Linked DNA regions of Homo sapiens: regions 1, 3 and 4 are each linked to region 2. Evidence: promoter capture Hi-C in 16 types of primary human blood cells and fetal thymus (Javierre and others, 2016). All regions are on one chromosome and are shown on one strand. Each heading gives the region's core, a stretch centred on a gene start or on the middle of the fragment in contact. The rest is flanking DNA. Distances are from core to core; before and after follow the strand shown. Region 1 overlaps MAST2 (microtubule associated serine/threonine kinase 2). Region 2 holds the start of CCDC17 (coiled-coil domain containing 17). Region 3 overlaps MAST2 (microtubule associated serine/threonine kinase 2). Region 4 overlaps MAST2 (microtubule associated serine/threonine kinase 2).

Region 1 (3,701 bases), core at 1,079-3,578, 230 kb before region 2:
GGGAGATGGAGGCTGCAGTGAGCCATGACTGCAAAACCACACTCCAGCCTGGGGGACAGAGTGAGACCCTGTATCAAAAGGAAATATAAATATAAATATAATTCACATAGAGAAGAACACATTAGTGGTTGCAAGAAGATAAAGACGGGGTGGGAGTGCAAATATAAAAGGGCAGCCCAAGCGAATTCCTTTGTAATGACAGTACGGTTCTGTATGTTGATTGTGGTGGTGGCCATTACACAAATCTATTCATGGGATGAGATTGCATGACTTGTACATACACACACAAACATATACAAGTGTATATAAAGACCAAATAAGGGCTATAATCTAGTTAATGATATTGTACAAATGTCATTTTCATGGTTTTAATATTGTATTATAGCTATATAAGATGACACTATTGGTGAAAGCTGGGTGAAGGGTTCATAGTACTCTGCACTATTTTTGCAACTTCCTATGCAACCATAAGTATTTTTTTAAAGGCTAAATAACTGAAAAAAAAGGAAATTCCTATATTTTCATTTTAGTATCTCCCTATAAATGCATGTTACTTTATTCCCAAAATGCCCCAACACATCTCAGAAACGTTTCTGTTTGGAGCTTTTTGCCCTCTTTAAAAAATAGTCCATTAATTCTATTTGCCAGCAGCAATCTCAGTCCCTCAGCTCAGGTAATTCATTTCAAGTAGGGCTGAAAATTTTTTCTATTAGGTCAAGCAGAAAAAAGGAAGTCAGATGAATAGATGTAGAAAAAGCTTTCAATAAAATCCACCATCCCTTCATGATAAAAACCCTCAACAAACTAGGCATCCAAGGAACATATCTCAAAATAAATAAAAGCCACCTATGACAAATCCACAGCCAACATCATGCTGAATGAGAAAAACTGGAAACATTCCTCTTGAGAACTGGAACAAGACAAGGATGTCTACTCTCCTGACTGCTGGTCAACAGAGCACTGGAAGTTCTAGCCACAGCAATCACACAAAGGAAAGAAAGAAAAGGCATCCAAACAGCAAAGAAGTCCAGCTATCTTTCTTTGCAGACAATATGATTTTATACCTGGAAAACCCTAAAGACTCCGCCAAAGGCTCCTGGAACTGATAAATGGCTTCCCAGTTTTAAGATACAAAAGCAATGTACAAAAATCAGTAGCAATTCTATATACCAGTAACATTCAAGCTGAGAGCCAAGTAAAGAATGCAGTCCCATTTACAATAGCTACAAAAAAAAGAAAAAGAAAAAGTACCTAAGAATACATCTAACCAAGGAGGTAAAAGATCTCAACAAGGAGAACTACAAACACTGCTAAAAGAAATCACAGGTGACACAAACAAAAGGAAAAAAATTTCATGCTCATGGATTAGAAGAATCAATACTGTTGAAACAGCCATACTGTCCAAATCAATCTACAGATTCAGCATAATTCTTATCAAACTACCAATGTCATTTTTCACAGAACTAGAAAGAACTATTCTAAAATTTACATGAAACCAAAAAAGAGCTCAAATAGCCAAAACAATCCTAAGCAAAAAGAACAAAGCTGCAGGGATTACATTACCCAGCTTCAGACTATACTATAAGGCTACAGTGTTTAAAAAAAAAAAAAAAAAAAAGCATAGTACTGGTACAAAAGCAGACACATAGACCTATAGAACAGAATAGAGAACCCAGAAATAAAGCCACACACCTACAATCTTCTGATCTTTAGCAAAGTCAACAAAAATAAGCAATGGGGAGAGGACTCTATTCAATAAATAGTGCTGGGATAGCTGGCTAGGCACATGCAGAAGAATGAAACTGGAACCCTACCTTTCACCACATACAAAAATTAACTCAAGATGGATTAAAGATTTAAATGTAAGACCTCAAACTGTAAGAATCCTAGGGAAAAAACAAACAAACAAACTAGGAAACACCATTCCAGACACTGACCTTGGGAAACAATTTATGACTGAGTCCTCAAAAGCAATTGCAACAAAAACAAAAATTGTCAAGTGGGACCTAATTAGACTAAAGAGTTTCTGCACAGCAAAAGAAACAATCAGTAGAGTTAACAGCCTACAGAATGGGAGAAAATATTTGCAAACTATGCATCTGACAAAGGTCTAATATCTAGACTCTATAAAGAACTTAAACAATTAAACAAGCAAAAAACAACCCCATCACAAAATGGGCAAAAGACATGAACAGACACTTCTCAAAAGAAGATATACAGGCAGCCAACAAACATGAAAACATGCTCCACATACTAACCATTTGAGAAATGCACATCAAAACCACAATGAGATACCATCTTATGCCAGTCAGAATAGCTATTATCAAAAAGCAAAAAAACAACAGATGCCGGCAAGACTGCAGATAAAAGGGAACACGTATACACTGTTGGTAGGAATGTAAATTAGTTTAGCACTCTGGAAAGTAGTTGGGAGACTTCTCAAAGAGCCTAAAACTGAACTACCATTCAACCCAGCAATCCTATTACTGGGTAAATATACAAAAGAAAACAAATCATTCTACCAAAAAGACACATGTACTCACATGTTAATCACAGCACTATTCACAATAGTAAAGACATGGGATCAACCTAGGTGCCCATCAACAGTGGACTAGATAAAGAAAATATGGGCGGGGCACAGTGGCTCACGCCTGTAATCCCAGCACTTTGGGAGGCTGAGGCAGGCAGATCACGACGTCAGGAGATCCAGACCATCCTGGCTAATATGGTGAAACCCCATCTCTACTAAAAATACAAAAAATTAGCTGGGTGTGGTGGCGGGCGCCTGTAGTCCCAGCTACTCCAGAGGCTGAGGCAGGAGAATGGTGTGAACCTGGGAGGTGGAGCTTGCAGTGAGCCTAGATCGCGCCACTGCACTCCAGCCTGGGTGACAGAGAGAGACTCCATCTCAAAAAAAAAAAAAAGAAAAGAGGGGGTCCAGCTTTAATCTTCTGCATATGGCTAGCCAGTTATCCCAGTATCATTACTTGTTTTTGTCAGTTTTGTCACAGATCACATGGTCATAGGTGTGCAGCTTTATTTCTGCCGGAAATAAAGTTCCATTGATCTATGTGCCTTTTGTACCAGTAACATGCTGTTTTGGTTACTGTATCCCTATAGTACAGTTTGAAGTTGGGTAACGTGAGGCCCCCAGTTTTGTTCTCTTTGCTTAGGACTGCCTTGGCTATTCAAGCTCTTTTTTGGTTCCATACGAATTTTAAAATCGTTTTTTCTAGTTCTGTGAAGAATGTTCTTGGTAGTTTGATAGGAATAGCATTGAATCTGTAAACTGCTTTAGGCAGTATGGTCATTTTAATGATATTGAGTCTTCCTATCCATGAGCATGGTGTGTTTTTTCATTTGTTTTTGTCTTCTCTGATTTCCTTGAGCAGTGTCTTCTAATTCTCATTGTAGAAATCTTGCACCTCCCTGGTTAGCAGTATTCCTAGGTATTGTATTCTTTTTGTGGTAATTGTGAATGGGATTGCCTTCCTGATTTGGCTCCCAGCTGGGCTGTTGTTGGTGGATAGGAATGCTAGTGGTTTTTTGTATGTTAATTTGGTGTCCTGAAACTTTGCTGAATTTGTTTATCAGTTGAAGGAGCTTTTGGGCCAAGATGATGGGGTTTTCTACACATACAATCATGTCATCTACAAACAGGGATAATCTGACTTCTCTCTTCCTACTTGAATGCCGTTTAT
Region 2 (3,370 bases), core at 813-3,312:
AGGCAGGAGGATTGCTTGATTCCAAGGCAGTTCAGGGCTACAGTGAGCCATGATGGCACCACTACAATCCAGCCTGGATGACAGTCCTGCTCCCGCCTCTTCGGCCTAGAGCAGGAGATTAGAGAACTACAAGCTGTCTCTTGAGGGAAAAAAAAAAAAAATGGTAGTAGTATTTCTACTGAATGCCTATCACTGTTGCACCATTGTAAAGTCAACCAGTCAAAAGTCTTAACCATTGAAAATTGGGACAAACTTAGTTGTTGAAAAGGAGGTTTTGATTTGGGCTTTGCCATTTACTTGTTTTCTGAGAACATATTTCTAAAAATGTACTCTTTATGTCAGTTGGAATTAAGCTGAACTGAGATGACATACTTTGAACACTTTGTAACTTGCTGCTGGTGGGTCATACCTTGGCTTTAGGTACTGAGTAGGGAAATGTCTTAAGTCCCTGTCTTGTTTAGAAAAGGGAGTTTCGGCCAGGCATGGTGGCTCACACCTGTAATCCCAGCACTTTGGGAGGCCGAGGCGGGGGAATCACGAGGTCAGGAGATCGAGACCATCCTGGCTAACACTGTGAAACCCCGTCTCTACTAAAAATACAAAAAATTAGCCAGGCATAAGGCTGGGCGCAGTGGCTCACGCCTGTAATCTCAGCACTTTGGCACGCCGAGGCGGGCGGATCACAAGGTCAGGAGATCAAGACCATCCTGGCTGACACGGTGAAACCCCATCTCTACTAAAAATACAAAAAAAATTAGCCGGGCACAGTGGTGGGCACCTGTAGTCTCAGCTACTCGGGAGGCTGAGGCAGGAGAATGGCTTGAACCCGGAAGGCGGAGCTTGCAGTGAGCCCAGATAGTGCCACTGCACTTCGGCCTGGGCGAAAGAGCGAGACTCCGTCTAAAAAAAAAAAAAAAAAAAAGCCGGGTGTGGTGGCAGGTGCCTGTAGTCCCAGCTACTGGGGAGGCTGAGGCAGGAGAATGGTGTCAACCTGGGAGGCAGAGCTTGCAGTGAGCCGAGATCGTGCCATTGCACTGTAGCCTGGGCAACAGAGCGAGACTGTCTCAAAAAAAGAAGAGAAAAGGGTGTTTCTTGGCCGGGCGCAGTGCCTTACGCCTGTAATCCCAGCACTTTGGGAGGCCAAGGCGGGCAGATCACGAGGTCAGGAGATCAAGACCATCCTGGCTAACATGGTGAAACCCCGTCTCTACTAAAAAATACAAAAAATGAGCCAAGCGTGGTGGTGGGCACCTGTAGTCTCAGCTACTTGGGAGGCTGAGGCAGGAGAATGGCGTGAACCCAGGAGGCAGAGCTCATTGCAGTGAGCTGAGATCGCGCCACTGCACTTCGGCCTGGGCGACAGCGAGACTCCATCTCAAAAAGAAAAAAAAAAAAGTAAAGAGGGTTTCTTAAGAAATATGCGGTCACCTCAGAGCTCCTCCATATATTTTGGGAGTGGGAGTGGAGTGAAGAATTTCACCAACAGTTCAGGGTCTTTCTGGCTTCTGGCCAATCTTGGGAGAGAGAAGGGGTTTTTTTCTGGACTTGATTCCCTCATCTGATAGATTCATTCTGTTCGCCCACAGCTTTCATTTCTTGGGCTGTGCTGATTATCTTCGTCTACAGCTGAAAAATGAGGAATCAGGGAATGGGAGTTAGGGAGACTGCTATCCCTGGTGCGACATGGTTTCCAGGCAGAATGCTGGAAAGGTCAGAGTGCCTCCTTTGCCAGGTAGTTCTCTGGATTGGAGAATGGTACAAACTGTTACATCCACTTGGGAGTACAGCAATGAAAAAGATGACACTTGCCTTTTAGAGGCTATTAAATGACCAATGATGTAGTAAGTGATAAGGGCCCAGCCTAGTCTAGGAGGCAGCTGCTTTTTCCTCTTTATTAATAGTCAGGGAAACCAAGCTACAATTAGAGACTTGCCCACGTTCAGACTTTGTAACACTTTTTCAAGCCAGTGGCTCCTCCCAAACGGCCGAGGTTTCCCCACCCATTCTCCTGACCTGCCCAGCCCTGTGGTTGCTGTCCAGGGAGCTAAGGCTCTCCCCAAACAAACTTGAAGATCTCACAGACCTAATAGACACGGCCTTTCCTCTCTGCCTCTGGCTTTATGTCTCTTTCATCCTCCTCTGCCTTTCCCCTGCCCTTGATCCCTTCTGCAGGTCTTGGCTGGTTTCAGGAAACGGGTCCCATCCCATGGACTCCCACTCTGGGGAGCCTGCGCTCCTGCCCTGTGGGACCTGTGACATGGTTTTCCGCTCCTCAGCTCTGTTAGCCACCCATACTCAGCGCTTCTGCATTGGCCACCCGACCCAAGAGATGACATTTGGAGCACAGGCATCAGTTGCCACTGAACCCCAGCGGGCCGCGGTAAGGGCCTCCATGGCCATGGGTGGGGATTCAAAGGAGCCAGGACCTTTATGATTCCTCATCCTACTACACCCTATCCCCAGGTTGTGCCACAAGAACACCAGGGCGTGCCACAAGAACCCCAGGGCCTCCCAGACCAGCAGGCCAGTAGATCTGCTCTAAAGAGGTTAACAGAGGAGGTAGAGCTACCTACCTTCCCCCAGGGCTCAAAACGTTGAGCGTCTTCCCCAAACCTGTAGATCATACTTGGGACAGATTCTGCCCACGCAGAGATCGCGGATCGCTGTTACCTCCAGGTGCAGTGGCTGCGGCTATCCCTACAGGAAATGCGGCCCTGGATAACAGAGGTCCCCAGGGTGTTCGCGGGGCCCTGGACACGTTCCGAGGCGCGGCCTCAGAGTCCCATGTCCGAGGCGGTGGGAAGCCCCAGCGAGCGGCTGCGGGCGCTGTTCAGGACTCGCGCGAGGCGCGTGGCGGAGATGGAAGCGCAGAGCCGGGCCCTGCAGCTACGCGGCGAGGGTGAAGGAGATGGGGGACGGGGACCAAGGACCTCCTCTGCCCTCGCCGTTTGGCTTAAGCTTGCTCGGGCCGGTTCTGACTCGGCCCGCATTCCCTCAGAACTGAGCCGACGCCTCCAAGTTGTGGCCTGTACGCGGGGCGGGATGTCCCGCCTCTTCGGCCTGGAGCAGGAGATTCGAGAACTACAAGCTGAGGCCGGGAGGACGCGGGGAGCTCTAGAGGTGTTGGGGGCCCGCATTCAGGAGCTGCAGGCGGAGCCAGGGTGAGACCCGACTAAGCGGATCCCCGGAACATGCGGCTCCGGGGTGGGAGGGGCGGGCTGGCTGCAGCCCCGGGGCCTCTGATGCGTTACCGTCTCCCTGCGCGTCGCCTGCCACCCCAGGAACCCGCTGAGCTCCCGGCGAGAGGCAGAACTTTATTCTCCAGTGCAAAAGGCCAACCCGGGAACTCTGGCTGCCGAAATCCGGTGAG
Region 3 (3,651 bases), core at 790-3,289, 190 kb before region 2:
GTATGTTATTTGTGTTTTTTCTCTTACTGCTTTTAGGATCCTTCATCTTTTACCTTTAGAAGTTTGATTATTAAATGCCTTGAGATAGTCTTCTTTGGGCTAAATCTGCTTGGCATTCTAGAACCTTATACTTGAATATAGAAATCTTTCTCTAAGTTTGGGAAGTTCTCTGTTGTTATTCATTTCGATAAACTTTCTACCCCTATCTCTCTACCTCCTCTTTAAGGCCAAAACGCTTAGATTTGCCTTTTGGAGGCTATTTTCTAGATCTTGTAGGCATGCTTTTTATTCCTTTTTATCTTTTTCTTCTTTTGTCTCCTCTGGCTGTGTATTTTCAAATAGCCTGTCTTCGAGCTCACTAATTCTTTCTTCTGGGGCCAGGCACTGTGGCTCACGCCTGTAATCCCAACACTTTGGGAAGCCGAGGCAGGTGGATCACGAGGTCAGGAGATCGAGACCATCCTGGTTGACACGGTGAAACCCCGTCTCTACTAAAAAACAAAAAAATTAGCCAGGTGTGGTGGCACACACCTGTAATCCCAGCTACTTGGGAGGCTGAGCCAGGAGAATCGCTTGAACCTGGGAGGCAGAGGTTGCAGGGAGCCATTACGCCACTGCACTACAGCCTGGGCAACAGAGCGAGACTCCATCTCAAAAAATAAATAAATAAATAAATTCTTTCTTCTGCTTAATCAGTTCTGCTATTAAAGGACTCTGATGCATTCCTTAGTATATCAACTGCATTTTTCAACTCCAAAATTTCAGCTTGGTTCTTTTTAATTATTTCCATTTCTTTGCTGAAGTTACCTTAGGGGATTCTGATTTCCTTATCTGTGTTATCCTGTATTTCTCTGAATTTCCTCAAAATGGGTATTTTGAATTCTCTGTCTGAAAGGTCATGTATCTCTATCTCTCCAGGATTGGTCCCTGGTGCCTTACGTAGTTTGTTTGGTGATGTCATGTTTTCCTGAATGGTCTTAACGCTTGTGGGTATTTGTCAGTGTCTGGGCATTGAAGAGTTAAATATACATTGTAGCCTTTGCGATCTGGGCTTGTTTGCATCTGTTATTCTTGGGAAGACTTTCCAGGTATTTGAAGGGACTTGGGTCTCTCTCTCTCTCTCTCTCTCTTTCTCTCTCTCTCTCCCCCCCACCCCCAATACCAAGCTGCCTTTCTTGGGGTTGCCAGAGACTACCTCTGCCACAGGCTGCAGAAAAGCTTTTCCAGATCTCCTATCTGTGCTTGGGAAAAAGGCCTTTACTTGCATTCAAAATTGTTATAACTCAAAACTCTGTGTGTCTACAAGGAAAAAGAGGAGGCTATGGTTCCAGGCTGTCTATAACCAAAATAAATGGATTTCTGTATGGTTCTAAGCTAAGGACTACATTGGGGTTTGAGTCCTGTGGCAGGGACTAGTTAGATGTTGATCAAGCATGATTCACCTTCCTCCTAGGCACAGGCCACATGACATTTCCCAGCCCTCCAGTAGTTAGGCATGGCCCTGAAACTGAGTTCTGGCAATGGAATATGAGTGGAAGTGATTAATCCATTTCTAGGATTGGCCCATCCTCCACTTTCCTCAGCTGAACTTGGAAGCCATGTGTAGAAAATGGAAGCACCTCAATCAAGGGGTCCTTGTGAATCAGTTACAGCAAGTAATGTTCTTTAATATAAAAGACCAAAGACTGAGCTAGTCACAAAGTATCACTTTCTCTTACTGGTTAAAGGTAGAACTTAAATGTTCCTGGGTCATTTAAACAAAAATCACCTTGGTAACACCCCTATGAAATAACTTAAGGACTTTAAAAAAAAACTATTAACAACTATTTCTAAATCCTCTGCTTTTCAAAACATTCCTGAAAGCCTAACAGATAGAAAGTCTGACCAGTCACGGTGGCTCACACCTGTAATCCCAGCACTTAGGGAGGCTGAGGAGGGTGGATCACCTGAGGTCAGGAGTTCAAGACTAGCCTGCCCAACATGGTGAAACCCCATCTCTACTAAAAACATAAAAATTAGCTGGGTGTGATGGCATGTGCCTGTAGTCCTAGCTACTCAGGAGGCTGAGACAGGAGAATCACTTGAACCTGGGAGGCAGAGGTTGCAGTGAACCGAGATCACGCCATTGCACTCCAGACTGGGAGACAGTTTCAAAAAAAAAAAAAAAGAAGATCTGACAAAACTATATTACTTCTGCTTTGCTGAAATAACGGCAAAGAAACGATGTAGCTTATTAATCTCCAACAAATTAATGGTTAAAGGATATATGCATCTACTACTCAGGTTCACTCTTAAGGAACCTACACTCAAGCTGGTACAACTAAGATGGTATCACCTAATTTTAACACATGGTTCCCTTGGGCTGAATTTTTCTTAATTACATTCTAAAACCTAGGGAGACTATTCTATCTTCTAAGCCAGTTACTTAATAAAAAAATCCATAAAAGTTTCCCTGAAGGGGAAAATGCACAAATTAAAGTCTCCTTTCAAGCTGAATAAAATAAAAGAACAGTTTAATAACACCAACAAATCAAAGGTCAAGATAGCTTTTTCTTTTTATTTTTGAGATAGAGTTTCGCTCTTGTCGCCCAGGCTGGAGTGCAATGGCGTGATCTTGGCTCACTGCAACCTCCAACTCCCGGGTTCAAGCAATTCTCCTGCCTCAGCCTCCCAAGTAGCTGGAACTATAGGCGTGCGCCACCACGCTGGGCTAATTTTTGTATTTTTAGTAGTGACGGGGTTTTGCCATGTTTGCCAGGCTGGTCTCAAACTCCTGACCTCAGGTGATACACCCGCCTTGGTGTATGTGTTTACATTATACAAAATATTTTCTTTCATTATCCTTATTATATAAGCTTTCTTCTATTAAAAAAATTTTCTTTTTTTACTTTTTAAACTGTTTTGTTAGAAAGTAAGATACAAACATACGCACTAGCCTAGGCCTACACAGGGTCGAGATCATCAATATCACTGTCTTCCACCTCCACATCTTGTTCCATGGGAAGGTATTCAGGGGCAATAATGGAGCAATAATGGAGGTGACATGGAGCTGTCATCTCCTATGGTAACAATGCCTTCCCTGGAATTACACTGAAGGACTTGTCTGAGGCTGTTTTACAGTTAACTTTTTTTTTTAATAAGTAGGGGTACACTCTAAAATAACAGTAGAAAGTATAGTATGGTAAATACATAAGCAAGTAACATAGTTGTATATTATCATCATTAGGTATTATGTGCTGTGCATGCACTAACTCTATGTGCTGTACCTTTATACCACAGCAGTGCAGTAGGTTTTACACAGGCATTACCATGAACATGTAATGTGTTGCACTACAATGTTGTAATAGCTAGATGTCACTAGGCAATAGAAATTTTTCAACTCTGTTATAATCTTATGGGAAGCCAGGCATAATAGTTCATGCTTATAATCCCAACATTTTGGAAGGCCAAGGCAGAAGGATTGCTTGAGGCCAAGAGCTCAAGACCAGCCTGGGCAACATAGCAAGACTTCATCTCTATTTAAAAAAAAATTTTAATAAAAAAATTATAATCTGGCCAGGCGCAGTGGTTCATGCCTATAATCCCAGTACTTTGGGAGGCCGAGGTGGGCGGCTCACCTGACGTCAGAAGTTCGAGACCAGCCTGGCCAAC
Region 4 (3,767 bases), core at 499-2,998, 240 kb before region 2:
ACACATAATCTCCCAGATGTCCTTTTACCATTAAGATGTAGGGATGTTGTAGTGTGTGACTGTGCAGACTGAAACTGCTACAGTTCTTTTTCTAACACATAGGAAGCAAGCTTGAGAATGAGGCCAAAACACAGAGGAAGGCAAAAGAGCAATGAAGCTGAGCAAATACACCAGACTACCCAACTCTGAAACCCATCCAACCTCTGGACTTCATTGTTGTGAGTCAATACATTTACCTAACATTTAAACCACTCAGAGTCAAAATTTCTGTTACTTGTAGTTCAGAGTACCCTAACCTATACATCTAGCCTGGCCATACACCTACTTGTCTGTCCTTGAGGAAGCTACTGAGCTTCACGTATCTGTAAAAATGGCCAATAAGAAAGTCCTCCACATCGTCCACTGCTATCACCCCTCCAATCTGTTATTATTTCTTGCTTTTTTTGACCACAACAGTCTCATAATTGGTCTTTTTGCTGCAGCCCTTGCCTCCACTGTCTACTCTCAATATACCAGTGGAGTACAGAAATGAAATGAAATTTGGCTGTGGTTATATGACTAGAACATGGCAGAACTGTAATTTGAACAAAATAGACAAGGTCTTTGCTGTCACGGAACTTCTAAATGCCCTATTTACTATTCTGCTACCTCCCCAAGAAACTCTGCGGAAAAACCTGGAGGTATCAAAGTAGGCTGTGTCTTAGCTGATCTTCTGGAAAAGTTTTAGGAAATCTATTTCACCAGAAAGCAATTAGCGAAGCCAAATATTTATTTGGATTTTCACCTTCAAATCTGAGGTTACCCAGTAGATTACCTGTACCACCAGGCACACTTTACCTTTGTGTGTTTATTTATATAAATCTATTAATAAAACTTACCTTTAAATCTTTATATTATAATGTAACTATTTAAAACAAATAATCTAAACTGCTGCTTTTCAAGCGTTAGCTCTGTTTTGGAATGTTCCAAAGCAATCTTCTGGAGAATGAACCTTAAAGTTTATTTTTTAAAAATAGGCAAAATAGGCTGGGTGCGGTGGCTCACATCTGCAATCCCAGCAATTGGGAGGCCGAGGCGGGTGGATCACCTGAGGTCAGGAGTTTGAGACCCGGCTGGCCAACATGGTGAAACACCGTCTCTACTAAAAATACAAAAAATTAGCCAGGTGTGGTGGCACATGCCTGTAATGCCCCAGCTACTCGACTCCGGAGGCAGAGGCAGGAGAATCACTTGAACCTGGGAGGCAGAGGTTGCAATGAGCCAAGATCACGCCACTGCACCTCCAGCCTGGGTGACAGAGTGAGACTCCATCTCAAAAAAAAAAAAGTAGACAAAATAAATAGGGGAAAAATTTTTTATAAGTATAAGGCTGTAGGAAAAGATCTTCCAGTGCTATGTAATCTGGCAGTTTAGAACTCCTGCTAGATAGAAACAAAGACTCGAGAGGAAGGGCATCAGTAAACAAGGTAGCAAATACTAGAGACTGACTCAGGCATCAGGGAGAAAATGAATGATTTAACACAAAACAGAAAATATTTCCCATTCAACAAATAGGATTCCCTTTCTGAATCCTAGCAACTAAAGAGAAATAAAGATATAAATAAGCAGTGCAACTAAATGGGCTTACAGAGCCAGCCATTTTTAATTAGCAGCTGCTTGAACATACATCACTACTTATGAGAGGTCATCTGAGTACAGTACTAAATAAATACTACTCAAAATAACCCCAAGAAATCAAGGGACAAATCTCATCGAATCAACTGTGCTAACAGGAGAAATTAGTATAAGGCGCTGGAGTTTATGTTATTGACTTTTAAAGCCCAGGTCATACTGGTCAACTGCTAAAGATTCAGTGGGTTCTCCCTACGGGCTCTGAATGTTTACAGCACCATCAATAAGAAGTACATATAATAACTAGAAACAATACAATTTGTTTAAATTTATATTTTAAGTTTACTAATCCTATACATTTTCTACCTGAGAACTTTAAAGAAACTAAAATAATGTTAATTCATGATAATTTTAAAATCCTTAGGTATTTTGTACAAAAAAAGTGCTTTATAAATAATGTCAAATAAACAAAATGAAAACAACAGAAATAGCTACATTTCATGACTAAACCATCACAGGTTGATTGATTAGCTCAGTGATTTACACTAGAATCTTCATTATGTCAATTCTCAAAAACATTTAGTGATAGACTAGAAGCTGGCTTGCTCTTTGCTAACAAGACTAAGATGAGATAATCTACAAAGCATGAAAAAAATAATCATCAAATTTGGCATGTATTCTTTTAGTGCTAAGGATATTCATTAAAACTCAGTTGAAGGTTGCCTATCAGTCTATTTTCATTCACTGTTATATCTTACATACCTCTTCATCTAACAAACTACCTATGATTTAAGAAGGAAAAGATGGTAGGTAGGTAGGTAGGTAGACAGACAGACGGATGGATGGACAGACAACACAGACAGACAATAGATAAGTGGATGGAATGTGTATATGCCAAGTGATAATTTAGAAAAGTTCTTAAAACTATGCATAGAATCAAGCATATACTACCATACATGTGACTTAATGGTGGGCAGATCAGGCATGGTGGTCAGGAACAGAATATGTTCACCGTAAACAATCTGTCAGCAGTAATGTCTAATGTTCTAAATTAGGCTTGTATCCCATACAGGTCTGATTTAGTTGCTCTACTCACTAAATACAGTGTAAATAAGCCCAAGCAGCATTTTTCTATCAAAATAGCAAGATTTTAGATAAGTTCTCTAATTATAACTATACATCAAAGAATAAAGAGGAACTTAGCTGCACTCCACTCTGCCTCCTACCTCAAATGAATTAAATACATTATAACAATCTGTTCAGTACATTTACAAGAGACATTAAAAGGAAGGAGATCAGTGAAAAAGGTTTTCTTTTACTCACCTGTAACCCTCTCCTTCTCAGAATACTGGAATCATCCATAATAGATATCAGACAAAAAAAAGCCACTCCCCAGACAGTCAACTACTAGTGCCTACTTACTGCTGGATAAAGAGGCAAACAATCCTTTCAGCACACCACTAACCCACTGTTCCACTAAACCAGTTATCCCTCTGTCCAGCGTAAGTATACAATCACTGCCTCATATCAGAATCACGTCTTTCTTCACAGAAGTATAGATACATCTCATCTGAAGCACTGCCAAATAGCGGAAAGACTTCATATTTGTTTTCATTTTCCATGCATACCCCTTTGGTTGAAATTATTTGAAGTACTAAGAAAAGAACAAAAGGTTCCGGGGGAAAAATTCCAATCTTTGATATCCTGACTTTGCTGCTTATTAAAAAGGTTTAGCAAACAAAACAAGAGTCTCCACCTACAGCTACTAAGCTTATAAAATCCATGTCACGTTTTCCTTTCCAGAAACAAAACCACTCCACATACGTTTTTAAAAAGATGACAATTCTTCAGAAATACAAAGAAAAACATACGATTCTGATGCCTGTATTTTAGACTCAAAATGATATAAAACCAGTTATTGTTTTGACTAAGTCGGCAAAATTCCTTTCATCCTTTGTACAGACAAAGCAAATGTCAGATTCTTTCGATACTGTCAGGGGCTCTTTTGTTTCTTTATCGCTAGACTCACTGGTCTTCACTTCTTGGACAGTAACGAAAGCCTCTTTCTTCAGGAGCTAGATCATTGCTAAGGTCGGTTTCCCTGCTCTTTTATGTGCAGGAGGGGGCTAGTCCACGTGTTGTGAGTTCTGAGCATG

The links. Contacts are between HindIII fragments. The CHiCAGO score rates a contact against its expected background, and 5 or more counts as called.
Region 1: a contact is called between a fragment that was not itself captured here and the fragment with the promoter of CCDC17 in region 2, in 4 of 17 cell types (M0 macrophages, megakaryocytes, endothelial precursors and 1 more). The highest score is 6.9, in M0 macrophages.
Region 3: a contact is called between a fragment that was not itself captured here and the fragment with the promoter of CCDC17 in region 2, in 1 of 17 cell types (M0 macrophages). The highest score is 5.1, in M0 macrophages.
Region 4: a fragment that was not itself captured here is called in contact with the fragment with the promoter of CCDC17 in region 2 in 3 of 17 cell types (megakaryocytes, endothelial precursors and M2 macrophages); the score reaches 9.0 in megakaryocytes.

What each region holds. Positions count from the first base shown.
Region 1 is chr1:45,848,754-45,852,454 of GRCh38, reverse strand. All of the region lies in intron 3 of MAST2 (microtubule associated serine/threonine kinase 2), which reads right to left. Among named protein-coding and RNA genes, the nearest start is that of MAST2, 47 kb to the right of the region's middle. The HindIII fragment of the contact is 3,137 bases long and covers 760-3,701 here.
Region 2 is chr1:45,622,746-45,626,115 of GRCh38, reverse strand. CCDC17 (coiled-coil domain containing 17) reads left to right here and starts at 2,062. Exons shown (of 13, transcript NM_001114938.3): 1 at 2,062-2,380; 2 at 2,464-2,559; 3 at 2,677-2,899; 4 at 2,999-3,161; 5 at 3,282-3,365. The coding sequence starts at 2,207. The HindIII fragment of the contact is 6,664 bases long and covers 1-2,960 here.
Region 3 is chr1:45,813,701-45,817,351 of GRCh38, reverse strand. All of the region lies in intron 1 of MAST2 (microtubule associated serine/threonine kinase 2), which reads right to left. Among named protein-coding and RNA genes, the nearest start is that of MAST2, 12 kb to the right of the region's middle. The HindIII fragment of the contact is 1,637 bases long and covers 1,221-2,857 here.
Region 4 is chr1:45,864,307-45,868,073 of GRCh38, reverse strand. The region is part of intron 3 of MAST2 (microtubule associated serine/threonine kinase 2); the gene reads right to left. It overlaps LOC105378694 (a long non-coding RNA gene), which reads left to right. Exons shown (of 5, transcript XR_001738038.2): 5 at 103-190. Among named protein-coding and RNA genes, the nearest start is that of MAST2, 63 kb to the right of the region's middle. RefSeq lists a silencer at 43-337. The HindIII fragment of the contact is 3,271 bases long and covers 113-3,383 here.